2 separate regions of the Homo sapiens genome follow, and region 1 is linked to region 2. The links are contacts of gene promoters, found by promoter capture Hi-C in blood cells and fetal thymus (Javierre and others, 2016). All regions are on one chromosome and are shown on one strand. Each heading gives the region's core, a stretch centred on a gene start or on the middle of the fragment in contact. The rest is flanking DNA. Distances are from core to core; before and after follow the strand shown. Region 1 overlaps CCDC169-SOHLH2 (CCDC169-SOHLH2 readthrough). Region 2 holds the start of SMAD9 (SMAD family member 9).

The links. Contacts are between HindIII fragments. The CHiCAGO score rates a contact against its expected background, and 5 or more counts as called.
Region 1: a fragment that was not itself captured here is called in contact with the fragment with the promoter of SMAD9 in region 2 in 1 of 17 cell types (M0 macrophages); the score reaches 5.5 in M0 macrophages.

The regions. Positions count from the first base shown.
Region 1 is chr13:36,277,777-36,284,008 of GRCh38, reverse strand. It overlaps CCDC169-SOHLH2 (CCDC169-SOHLH2 readthrough), which reads left to right. Exons shown (of 16, transcript NM_001198910.2): 2 at 307-417. The coding sequence starts at 403. It overlaps CCDC169 (coiled-coil domain containing 169), which reads left to right. Exons shown (of 8, transcript NM_001144981.3): 3 at 307-417; 4 at 500-540. Among named protein-coding and RNA genes, the nearest start is that of CCDC169, 17 kb to the left of the region's middle. The HindIII fragment of the contact is 1,493 bases long and covers 1,018-2,510 here.
Region 2 is chr13:36,915,424-36,921,753 of GRCh38, reverse strand. It overlaps SMAD9 (SMAD family member 9), which reads left to right and starts at 1,516. Exons shown (of 7, transcript NM_001127217.3): 1 at 1,516-1,638. RefSeq lists silencers at 1,376-1,425, 1,536-1,605. The HindIII fragment of the contact is 8,984 bases long and covers 1-4,138 here.

The DNA of each region.
Region 1 (6,232 bases), core at 515-3,014, 640 kb after region 2:
TGAATTCATTGTAAGGATGCACAAGAAGTAAAAGAAAAAAGCAGGTGGGAAGTAGGGAAGAAGAGGAATTGCAGTAGTTGTGATAAGGTTTGGCTGTTTGGTAGCCTGAGTGTGAGTCTAATTCTTGCAGTCTGGAAAATCTTACTAACAGAAATACAGACTTAATAACTATTTCCTTCTAGTTGATCTGTATTGCCAATAAAGTCAAATATAGTAATAGAGTAAGATCAAGCTCATAATGTTATTTTAATGAATAAATGAGAGGTGGTGGGGTGATCTTGATTGTTTCTCCCTGTTTTTACTCAGGTAGTGAATGGAAAACCCGTTATGAGACACAACTTGAATTAAATGATGAACTAGAAAAGCAAATTGTTTATCTCAAGGAGAAAGTGGAAAAAATCCATGGAAACTCTTCAGGTACAAAACCAATCATATGTACATTTTATAATTTGAGTTAAAACTGATAAAACATTAAGTGCTCATATTTGATTTATTGTAGATAGACTATCTTCTATTCGTGTCTATGAACGAATGCCAGTGGTGAGTAGAAATGTGATTAAACACAAAGAATAATTGAAGGAAATTATGTCTATTTTTTCCAGACGTATTTCAAAGAGAAGTTTGAAGACTAGCGCAAGGTCCAAATAAACTGTTTTGTTCAAGGGATCTGTTTGAAGGACAACAAATAATTTTTGAGTAGCTATAGGTGGAGCACTAAGTTGCCAGCTATATTCACAGGTGTCCTGAAGAGCAGAGCATGTATAGATATTGCTTTTTGAATCACCGCCAACCTTCAGAGAAAGATATAGACAAATACTGTGTTTTTGCTAATAATGAATTGAGGAGAAATAAGTCCTTTTGCACGCTTGTTACTTTCAACCCAGACATGCCTTTATTTCCATATCTTGGAAAGTCAGGAATTTTTCTAACTCGAAAAATTGTTTTCCCATGTGCTGTCATAGAGTTATATCGCCCTCTTGTGGCATTTAGAAATAGTTGCTAGGGCTATGTTAAGCTTAGTGCCTTTTCTTAATTGCAGGTAGAATTTTATTACTACCTACTGGATATAAAATATTCTGTCTACCTGCTTCTTGATAACTGAGGCTCAGTCCTAGCTCAACAGAGTGGGTATCACCACCCTTGTGGAGAGTAGCAACAAGTGCTGGTATGACTTAGTAAAATACCTTAGGGCATATCTAAGGAGCGTTTAATTGGTTTTCTAACTACTACCTGAGACTCTGGAACATATTCATGTTGGAAAAAATACATTTATTTTCCTTGATGTATTTGTGTTATTTTTGAAGAAAATGTGGTTCTCTAAGAGATTTAATAATTTAGATCCAGAGACAGAGAATTATATTTCTCCACAGTAAAGGACTGAAGAAATATTAGCACAACGAAGAGTGGGACCACAGACCAAGCAGAAAGGAAAGAGAATGAAAGTTCAGTATAAACAGAACTGGTCCTCTCTATTCTCTGGACAGGTGCTTTCATGAGTGTTTGGTACTCATGAATCCAAGAGGGGTGTGTCTGAGCAGCAGAGATTAGAAATCTAATCAAGGAGTCAGCGATAGAAGTGTCCAATTACTAAGCAAAAAGCATTGGGATCCAACAATCCTATATCCAGTCAAGAGACCCTCTTAGCTAAGGACAAAACTAAGTCTTATTCTTTGATATAAAGAATAATATTTGTGAAATTCAGACATATAATTGTGTAATGCAGACATATTTTTGGCTTCCTGTTAAATTGACAATTAGGGAAAAGGGCTTAAATTAGTTGCTTTTGTGGGATAGAGTATGAATTCAAATACCATCTGTAAATTTCCCGATTCTTTATCCTTGTTGTGGATTGTTTAGTGTTTAGGAGTAATCTGTACAGACATACTTATGAAATTGATGTGTTAGTTTGAATACTAATTTTGAATAATTTCAAACTACAGATTTGCTTATGAGTAGCAAAAGGATGGGCACTCGTTGTTGACTAGTATATGTGTAATATTTTATATGTTATTTGACAAAAATGTATAAAATGTTATCTTTAAACTATATCATTAAAGTGGACTTCATTTTAATATAATTTTATCTCTCTTTTATTGTGGTAAATATACATAACTTAAAATTTACCATTCAGCATTTCTTTTTTTTTTGAGGGAGGGTCTCACTCTGTCACCCAGGCTGGAGTGTAGTGGTTCAATCTTGGCTCACTACAGCCTTTGCCTGCTGAGCTCAAGCAGTCCTCTCACCTCAGCCTCCTGAATAGCTGGGACTACAGGCTCATGCCACCATGCCTGGCTAATTATTGTATTTTTAGTAGAGACGAGGTTTCACCGTGTGTCCCAGGCTGGTCTCGAACTCCTGAGCTCAAGCAATCCACCTGCCTCGCCTCCCAAAGTGCTGGGATGACAGGTATAAGTCACCACACCCCGCCTGTTTCAGCCATTTTGAAATGTAAAGTTCAGTGTGATTTTAATATTTTAGAAAAAATTATTCACATAAGTGAGAGTGAAGCTTTAGTCTTTGTTCTGATAATAGGTTGGTGCCTCCAACTTTTTTTTTTCTTGAGGTTCACTTTTCTCCTCTGAAGGTAAGATACGTTATATTATCTTCTAAGTGTCTTTCAGTGGGGTAATTTATTAAAATTTTATTTTAGCATGATGTATCAAGGGTTGCATTTGGCAGAATGTAAGAGAAAGGTTTAAACAAGTAAAGTTTTTTTTTTCTCTTTTCTTTTTTTTCCTCATGTGACAGAAAGTATGAGGTTTGCAGTCCAGGGGTGGTGCAGTGGCTGTATAATGCCTTCAGGAATCCAGGCTTCCCCTAAGTTTCTACTCTGCCATCCATTTGTGAGTGGCTTTTGTCCTCGTGTTTAAAGATGGCTGCTTCGCCTTCTCAGCTGCTTCACGTTATCATTCAAAAAAAGACATAGGTGAAGGAGAAATGGTAAAGGTGAAAGCCGGTCACGTCTACTCCCCTTCAAAGAGCTTTCTAAGATGCTGCACCCAGTAATTCCCCTTGACATTTCATTGGGAGTTAGAACTGTATCATATGGGCACCTTCGTGTGCATGACAGGCTAGGAAATATAGTGTTTTACTGAATATACAGGAAGAAGAGAAGAGTGGATTGTGAGCGTACAGTTGGCTGTATCTGCCACACACAAAGTCATTTAAAGTGAAGGCATTTCATTTTATGTATTCATTCAATTCATTCATACATATTCGTTCAACATGTATTCAGCTGATATTATTTGGAAAATAAAAGGTATAGAAAAAGAATATCATAAAATCAAACATATCCACTGTAGACAGTTCTGTTTTTAGTAATTTTTGTATGCATACATATTGATTAAAAAGAACAACCAAATAAATAAGTCAGCCAACAAACAAAGTGAAAAAGGATTACAGCTAGTTTTTATTGTTGTTTAAAATATAATTATAACCTTACCGCATGGACAGTTTTGAATCCTATGCTAATTGGGGTAATTAAGTCAATTATTTCATATGTTATGTTCTCTTCATGTGCATTTTTCAATGATATATTATGTTCCATTGTGTTGGAATGTGAATGTTCAATTACTTTTCCCTATAACTGGGTATTTTAGGTTGTTTCTGGTTTTAATTTTGAGTTGAAACCCACAGAGTGTATTATGGCAAACAACTCCATATTCTAGTATTTATAAATCTTCAGATCTTTGTCCCTTTTTGACTTTAAATGTTTTAATGAAAACAATTTATAGAGTTGAGATCCCTTTTATTCTCCTCCCTGTCTTCTTTTTGTTTCCTTTTTATAGGCAAGGACTACCATGAATTTGGTATATATTATTTCAGTTTATTTTTAATATCTCTCTACATGTTGTATGTATAAAAATGCATATAAAAAGTATCATACTGTGCATATCATTCTTTTACTCATTATTTAATTCCATTCATGTTAATAAAGATCTAGTAAATTTTATCAGTTGTATAGTATTTCATTATATGTGTATATCCTTAGTATATTTACGTACATCATGAATTACGTAAATTAGCCTATTTACGTACATCATGAATTTTTCAAAATCTCACTATGACAAGCATTGCCACAGTGAATATCTTTATATGTGTCTTTCAGTGCAAAGTGTTCCTCTAGGCTTAGCAAACTTTTCTGTAGATGGATAAATAGTAAATATTTTCAGCATTGCAGTTGTATGATCTCTGATCTTTGTTGTAGCTATTCAACCCTGCTGCTGTAGTATAAAGGGAGCCATAGACAACACCTAATTGGTGGGCTGTATTCTAAAAAATCTTGGTTTACAAAAACAGGCAGAAGCTGAATTTGATCTTTAGGTTATAGTTTGCCAGCCTCTGCTTTAAGGCAGTGATCCATAAACTTTGGTAGGTTATGGAATCACCTAGGGCACTTCATAAAAATACAAAGGCCAAGTCCTGTCCTTCAACCTACTTGCCACCTCTATATTTTTATTAACTCTTCAGGTAATTCTAATAAAAAAGTTTGAGAACCACTGCTTCAAGTATACATGTTCTTAGAAGTGGAATTTTAAAATCATAAGATAGGTAGATTTTCAAATTATTATAAAGTATTTCTGGGTCAGTCTGTCTAAAGACACCCCAGCTCTACAGTTAGTTCAGTATGTCTGGAATAAATAAGAGGGATGATGAGCGATGAAGCTGGAAATAATATGCAGGGGCTAAATAATAAAGGGTTTGGTATTCATGGTAGGGAGTGTGAATTTTTTTTGTATATGATAAGAAGCTATTGAAATATTTTATATAGAGGTTGAAAGATCCTCCCACCCCCACCCCAACCACCATGAAGAAAGGATTCCTCAGGGTGGGTTAGAATTGAATCAGAGAAACCAGCTAGGATGCTTTTGTCGTAGTCTAGGTAAGGGAAGGTGGGTTTTTTTTTAGCTTGGGCAGTATTATATGGGGATGGAGCAGAGGAGACAGATTAAAGATCTATTTAGGAATGAGGATTTCATGAATACTTAGATATTGGGTAAGACTGCAAGAGAATTTAATGACAATTGAGAGTTTTGGCTTGAATAACTTCATGGATTACAATGAACAGGATAATAGAAATTGAAATTAGGATGTTAGGAAATGGTAAGTTTAGTTTTGTTTGTGTGTATTACACAGGTGATAGTGGTTTGGAAGCAACTGAAAATAGTTTTGGATTATGGAAAGTTGCTTCTCTGAAAACAGAGATCACCAAGTCATAAGTGTCACATGCAGTCATGAAACTACAAGGGATTGCTCAGGAAAAATATGCAGTCTGAAAAATAGAATTGAGGTTGAAACCCTGGGGAATGCTGACATTTAAAGTGTTAGGAGGCAATTTAGGGAATATTATTGAGAAGGAAAAATATTGAGAAAGGATGGGGGGACAACTGGAAGAATGGTATCACAGAAGTCAAGAAGGGGAAGGCTTTATGAATGTTCAGGAAAAGAATGTTCTAGAAAATTCTGCTGTAGGAGAGGATAAAACACGTTGTCCAGAGTTCAGGCAAATTATTCAAAAGCGAAGAAAGAAGTGCCAATTAGAGGCTAGGACATAGGAGAAAATGTGATGTGGTGTGTAGTGGAAGAGTAGGGGTGAGAAAATGTACTGAGTATAACCTATTTTCCCTCGAAACGTAGGTTTTGGAATCAGACCATCATGGCTCAAATTCAGACTATGGGACACTGAGGAAGTTATTTCATCTCTCTGAGGCTTAATTTCCTCATCTGTGAAATTGAGTTAATTAAACTCTCATGCAGGGTTACTGTGAAGATTATTAGAGATAGATAAAACAAATAACATAGTGCCTGACATAGTAAGCTCTGTTAGTTCCTGTTCTGTTTTCCCTTGATAAAGGAAAAGTACTATTTTATTAAAACAAGTCTGTTGTGAAATTAACCCCAATCAACTTGGAAGGGATAAGCATAAGGCCCAAAGATGTGCAATCTGTTTTCACTTATTAAGCTGTGCTGTTATATAAGTTGTGAATCTTCTGAATCTTTTGGTACCTTCTCAAAACTATAATAGAATTCATTAGATATTTAACATCTTTTTTTTTTTTTTTTTGAGACGGAGTCTTGCTCTGTTGCCCAGGCTGGAGTGCAATGGCACGATCTCGGGTCACTGCAACGTCAGCTTCCCGGGTTCAAGCGATTCTCCTGCCTCAGCCTCCCGAGTAGCTGGGATTACAGGTGCCTGCCACCACGCTCAGCCAATTTTTGTATTTTTAGTGGA
Region 2 (6,330 bases), core at 267-2,766:
ATTTCTTTCTCTGCATCTTGTCCTCTGCATTATGCTCATATACGAGAAGGAAACTGAGATAGTGATTGGGCCATTTCTTTTCTTAATTTAATTTTTAAAAACTTGAGCCACAAGGTATCAATTCTGAGGACCTAATTAGTTTACTGGCAATAAAGTCCACATCCAGCCTAATCCTTAATATATAATCTGTAGCCCTTACCGGTCCCGCTGTTTCCTGGTGTTTCTCACCCAGGACAATCTCAAACCCAACACATAGCCGGGTGCAGAGGTATCTGGGCCAGTGTAGAAAGAAGACTTTGAGGTTAAGGCATGGTATTTAAGGTTCTGCTGCAAATGTTGTTTTAAACAAATCACCGTTCAACTACAACGGTATAATAATGCAAAAATAGCATCTGCCATGAAGAAAGTGCAGTGCTTTGAGAACTAGAAAAAGCAGTTAAATTTAAGGCCTTGCTTTACATTTCGGAGCCGCCATCGGGGCCAACTGGAGGTATGACTTTCCTGCACACAGGAGCAAGCTGAAAACTGCCCTGTGGCTTTATTCCACGTTCACCCCTGCAGCAAATGCCTTTTCTGTGAGGAACTACGGGCTGATGGGGAATCAGAGGTGGTTCTTCCTAAGTGGCGTTTCTGAGTGGGTTCCAGGAGTCCACAGTGACTTTAAGAGGCAGGCTACCTGGGGGACAGCCAGGCCGTGAGACGAGAAAGTTGTACAGTAACATTGCTGTGTGCCCATAAGTTTGTATCTTTTATTAGATTAGATAATATATCTCACATGCTGGGTTGTTAAGCAAATAAATATGTGTAAGGAAATTACAATCCACATAATTACATGAGTCGTTTTAACCACCACTCACCCCCAGAGTGATTAGATTTTCTTCTGCCTATGCCATTGCGGCCCAGTTGCTCTGTCACTGTCCATGGGGACAGGATCCCCTTACTCCGAAAAGCAAATCAGGAACAAACAGGGCAAGTGAGAGTCACTATCAGGGCCCAGAAACATGTGAGGAACAGCAGCTCAGAAGGGTCTCCAGACTGATGGGCCGGTGATCCTATATTCTTGTTGGGCTGACAACTCTTCTGGTTTCGGGCTCCAGGTGCTGGCAAGAAATCTCAGAGGTGGGGTGGGAGAGAGAGACGCGAGGCGACCCACGCAGACAAAGGGCTCCCACCCCACCCCCGGGCCACCCCGGCAGGCCGGGCAGGGGCCGAGCCTGGGGTCGCGCAGGGGGACCGAGAGGGCAGCGCGGGGCTGGGGGTGGGGAAGAGGCGGGAACCGAGCCGCAGGCCGCTGCGAGGAGTACTACCCCGCCACCCCCGCGCCGCGAGTTTCCGCGCACGTGGCCGTGGGGCCGGTCTCGCTCCCGCCCCCCGCCGGGCCCGCGCAGCCCCCTCCTCTGCGGCTCCCGGAGCGGCCAGAGCGCGCGGCGGCGGGCGGGGGCGGGCCGCAAGCAGGGCTCCCTGGCCGCTTTCCAGGTCGGCGCACTAATACGGGCGATGAGGCTTCGCGGCTCCAGTCTGACTGACGCCGGCTGGGGCCGCCGCCGCCGCCGCCGCCGCCGCCGCTGCTGCAGCCGCTGTCTCGGTCCCCGCCGCCGCCGCCGGGCCCTGCAGGCGCTGGGCGCGCGCAGCCAGGCAGTGAGTGCGCGGCGCTCGGAGCGGGCGGCCGGGGGACCACGGCGGGGGCGGGGTTGGGGGCGCCGGACCTGGGTGGGGGAGGGATGAGTGGCACGGCGGGGACAGGTAAGACGTGCCCTCCTCGGCCGCGCGCTGCTTGTGTGCGTGCGTGTGAGCGCATTGAGTGGAGGGCGAAGTTGTTCGTCCTCGGGGCAGCCTGGGAGGCTCCTCGGCGTGAGGCTTGGCTTTTGGCGGTCGTTGTTCCCGGGTTTTTTGGTGGAGCCTGTCTGGGGTGGAGTGGGGTGGGGTGGGGTGGGCGCGGGGCCGGAGGGGACTGCTCTGGGGAGTTGGCCGCGGCGCAGCTCGCCTTCCTCGCGCCTGCATCCGCCCGCGCCGCGGGCCCCGGGACCTGTCAGGGGATGTTCGACCCGCGGCGGGGGCGGCGGTCGGGTCGGGGCTGGGGCCCGGGGCGTGGGCAGGGACCAGGATAGGCGCCTGAGGGGTCGCTTGCTGTAGCTGGAGATAGGGGACAGCGGACAGAGGGGGCGGCGGGGGTCGTCATTGTGACTCTTTGGGGGCCACTTTTAAACTCGCCAGCGCCGAATTGGCCTCACTTGCCTTCTGTTTCGTAGGCTTTTTGCTTTGTTTACCTTTGAGGCATGCGAACTGAGAAAAAAAGTTAGGAATGTTGTTGAAGTGTCTCCGGGCTCGCGCTTGGACTGTGTCGGAGCCGGGGTGTTTGTCTTTTCCTTGGCCCGCCCCTCGGTGCCAGCTCTCCGCAGAGGGGAGGGGGCGAGGTGGGAAGCAGATACAGGAGACTGCCTGACGCCAGCTTTGTGATCGGAAGGAGGAGCGCTGGGAGAACATTTTTATGGATGGCTAATCGCTGACAAGTTTTCCCGTTACTATTCCTTCCTCCTCCTGCCCTTGACCGTGGACATTTGAAGTGATAGTTTGGAAATACTACGTTGACTTATTTCTGGGCTGGAGTGGGTACTCCTGAGAACTAACCTACAAAGGATACAAATCGAGTTTGGAGATAAAATTGTATGTAAATTCTTTACCCAGTAGTTTACAGTGAGAAACACACCCACAGGGCACTGTGGAGTGCTTTGGATGGATCCAGTTTACTAGTACCATTTCGGTGGCTTGCCAGATTTCTCGGATGATCTTTTGGAAATGTAGGTTAGCAAGAAGCATGGAGGCTGACCGTTAAGTCGTGAGGCATTTAATAATGCTGCCTCCTAAGCAGTAACTGAGCGGAACGTTTGTGGCACCCGTCTGGGAAAGTGAAATGTGACTACTACAAGCATGTCTCCTGCCTTAGCATTCCTCCAAGTGTGAGGGAATGCCTTTGGATGTTTACATTTTAAAAATAGTGATCTATATTTAAGAAGGCATTTAAAATAAAAGCCAAAGACATTCTCAACTCCAAATAGACAAAGATTCAATATAAGAGTTTCCCTGTGCTTGTAGGAAAGCATCAGCACAATTTTAGACTGCTTTTAGGTTTGTGGTTATCCAAGAAGGAGGCTTCAGATAAGAAAAGGATGTGACGCTTTATAAATAAGGAGCATTTTAAATACAAGATGACAGCAATTTCAAGTACTGTATCCGAAAAACAACTTTTAGTGGTAATAGTCACCTTCAGTGATGGCAAGACAGCTGTCTGCCAGACAGCCTTCGGCCTCTTAATGTATTCTGACACAACCAACTCCCATTTTTATGCTTGACTGGTTATCTTTGTCAGAGCTGTTTTATGCTTGAGCTCTCTGGTTTCAAACTATGCTTAAGAGAATGCCAACATACTCTTGATCTGAACAAACTCATGTTTATCAGTGCAGTGTTTACTAAAAATCAAAGACGTAAACAAATTTTGGGTTAAACCTCTAAGTACTTTAGAATTGCCACATCATTGTCATCAGTCTTTCAAAGTCAACATGAACTATTTGGCTTTTCTCCTTTAAAAAATTTTTTTAACTTATATATTCCTAGTTAGTAAGTAATCAGAAAATATTCACAGATGTCAACTCTTGCATCTGTGATTGCCCAAGACATGGATGAGAAAGAAGAGTTTTGTTTTGTTTTTTAAATGAAACATTACTAAAGATATCCATAAGTAATAAACAAGTGGTACACTATCTTTACTAATCATGTGGTCAGTTGGAGGGAAAAAAGTCTGTCCAGAAATTGTTTCATAAAGATGAAAATATTCAATGTCAATATGAAAATACTCAATATGTTTTCCAAATAGTTTAATTCTGATTAATGAGAGTGCACTATGCATTGCCAAACTGGAGGGATGGTGTTTCGTAAGTGAGCACCGTAGGATTAAGGTAACTACTTTATATCTGACATTCCCTCTGTAATAAATAGGACAGCAGTTTCATCATGTTCTGCTTTAATATGTGGGAAATAATCCTTATCCACAGGATGTACTCTGATTTTAGGGAAGGTAAAGGTTATGACAAATATGTGGTTTTTCTGATTTGCCAGACATACTATGCTAAATTTTAAAGCTTTAACGAAGCTTAGTGCAGACTTTCTGTATATTGTTTTGGACACTTAGAGAGGAGTTAAAGAAACGGGAAACTGTCCAGAATGAAACAGTAAATATAGCAGTACGTTGAAACCATGAATCTTCTCAAATAGTTGTAATTCTAGGCTGTTGGATTTATATTTCCTTGGTTACTGTTGCTAGTGGGTTGAAAAGTTATTCTAAAGCAAAAAAAAAAAATGCAAACAGTAAATGCATAAGTACTTAACAATACTGTGAGCATTTTCACAATGTTTCATGTTATCCTGGTGAATGTCCATGTCCTAAGTAAGGACATTAAAAAAATAAACAATTATCCCTTGGTAATAAACTAACCTTTTAAAATAAATATTCCGGTAAATTTTGTCTCTTAAGAAACTTGTGTCAACTAAAGTTGTTAGGATTTCAAGATATCTGTTAGCATTAGGAGTCATTATACCCATGAAAACTGGATGTTCTTCTTGCTTGGTGGTCTTCATCCTGACACTTCCTACCCCAAAACCATGACGGACACCTCGGCCGCACTTGCCTGACTTGTATTCTGCTCTCCTTTGGTGTCGGCTTCCTTTTGTGTTAGGCTGACCCAAGACCACTTTTCCAGGCTTATCTTCCCGGTCTTTCCCTATTTTATGCTGCAGTTAAAATAGCAAATGCTAGTTTCCATGCATACCCTGGCTTTCCTCTCCTGTGCACCTTTACCCCACGCTGAGGCCTTCCCAGCTTCCCCACCTCCCACAGGATCCTCAAATATGACTTCTTCATCTTGTATGCCCTGTTCAGGCGCTGCCTTCACGGGACTTTCTGTGATGACCCTGGTCCCAGGTATGTCCTCCTTCGAGCTCCTGTGGCTCTTCGCCTTTTCAACTCTTACCTGTTTTGTATTAAGTTACTCATAGACTAATTTATTTCTTCCCCTCAGACCATCCTTACAAGATCCAGGAAGGAAGGGACTGTTTCATCTACCTTTTTTATTCTCTGAATGCTGACCACAGTGCCCTTTATAGTACTCTATCAATAAATAACAAATACATGACACATTTTTTCACTGAACCCATGGTCCCTCCTGAAATAAAGTCTGTAAAAGCATTTCACCCATAGGATAAAGTCCATCTTTCAAGAAGCTGGTGTTGAATCTGAGCTGAGGACTAGTTCAGAGGCCTGAAATCCCCTCAGCCCAGTTGAGAGCCTCCTTCTCCTGAACATTGTGGCTGAGCATTACAGTCAGGAAAAGCTTCTATGATACTCTTATTGCATTAGCAGTTTTCCATATCAGATTCACTAAATACACAATGGAAGCCATTTAGTAGAAAAACAGATTTTAATGTGATACGGCTACCACAATGAAACACTAATGTGATTCCACAGAAAATTGCTAACACGATATGCTGATTCCTCCCCCCACCATAGCCGCATAAAAATTGATACTGTTTTTAATGTATGTGTTTCAAACTATGCTCACAAAAGAAAAGCAGACTGCTACTGAGATGAGCTGCTGCTTTGTTCACGTTGGATGTGTAAAGGGTCTTGTTATCAGCCTCGTCAGGCAGAATCTGCCTTCTGTGCCTTGGTCATTCTATTATCGAACAATACTAACTCTCATTTTAAAATATATCATGTTCTGTGTAACAATCCAGTATTAAAGTTAATATGATGTGAAAAAATAGAATTTGCTTATAAATGTCATGCCCATATAATATATTCAGTTGTACCGTTTTAATTGGGAAGCTCTAATCAGCTCAAAACGCATTTTTCAAGAATCAAAACGACTCCCAATATAAAATTTAAATTCAGAATTTAAAATAAAAGGCATAAATATTAAGGTGGATTGTATATGTGTGTGCACACGGTTGTAACACTTTAGAAGTCATAAGCACTGAAGAGATTATGGTTCTTCCCCCTCATTCCCAGCCCACATTTAATTCAAAGAAAAAAGTTTAACCCAAAGAATAATTGTAAAGGAGACCTATGTAGTTCTGATTTTTTCCTATAATGACAATTTCCAATTCCTCTTTTTTAGATATTAAATATCAAAATCTTCTCTCTCTCTCTCTCTCTTTGTCTCATTCTTTGGTACTCTGATTAGCTGATTCACTGGTGGGGATTATTTTTATGTGAATTTCCCCTTGGGGAAATTTAATACTTAATATCTGATCACTTCCTTTTCTTTTTCATATTTA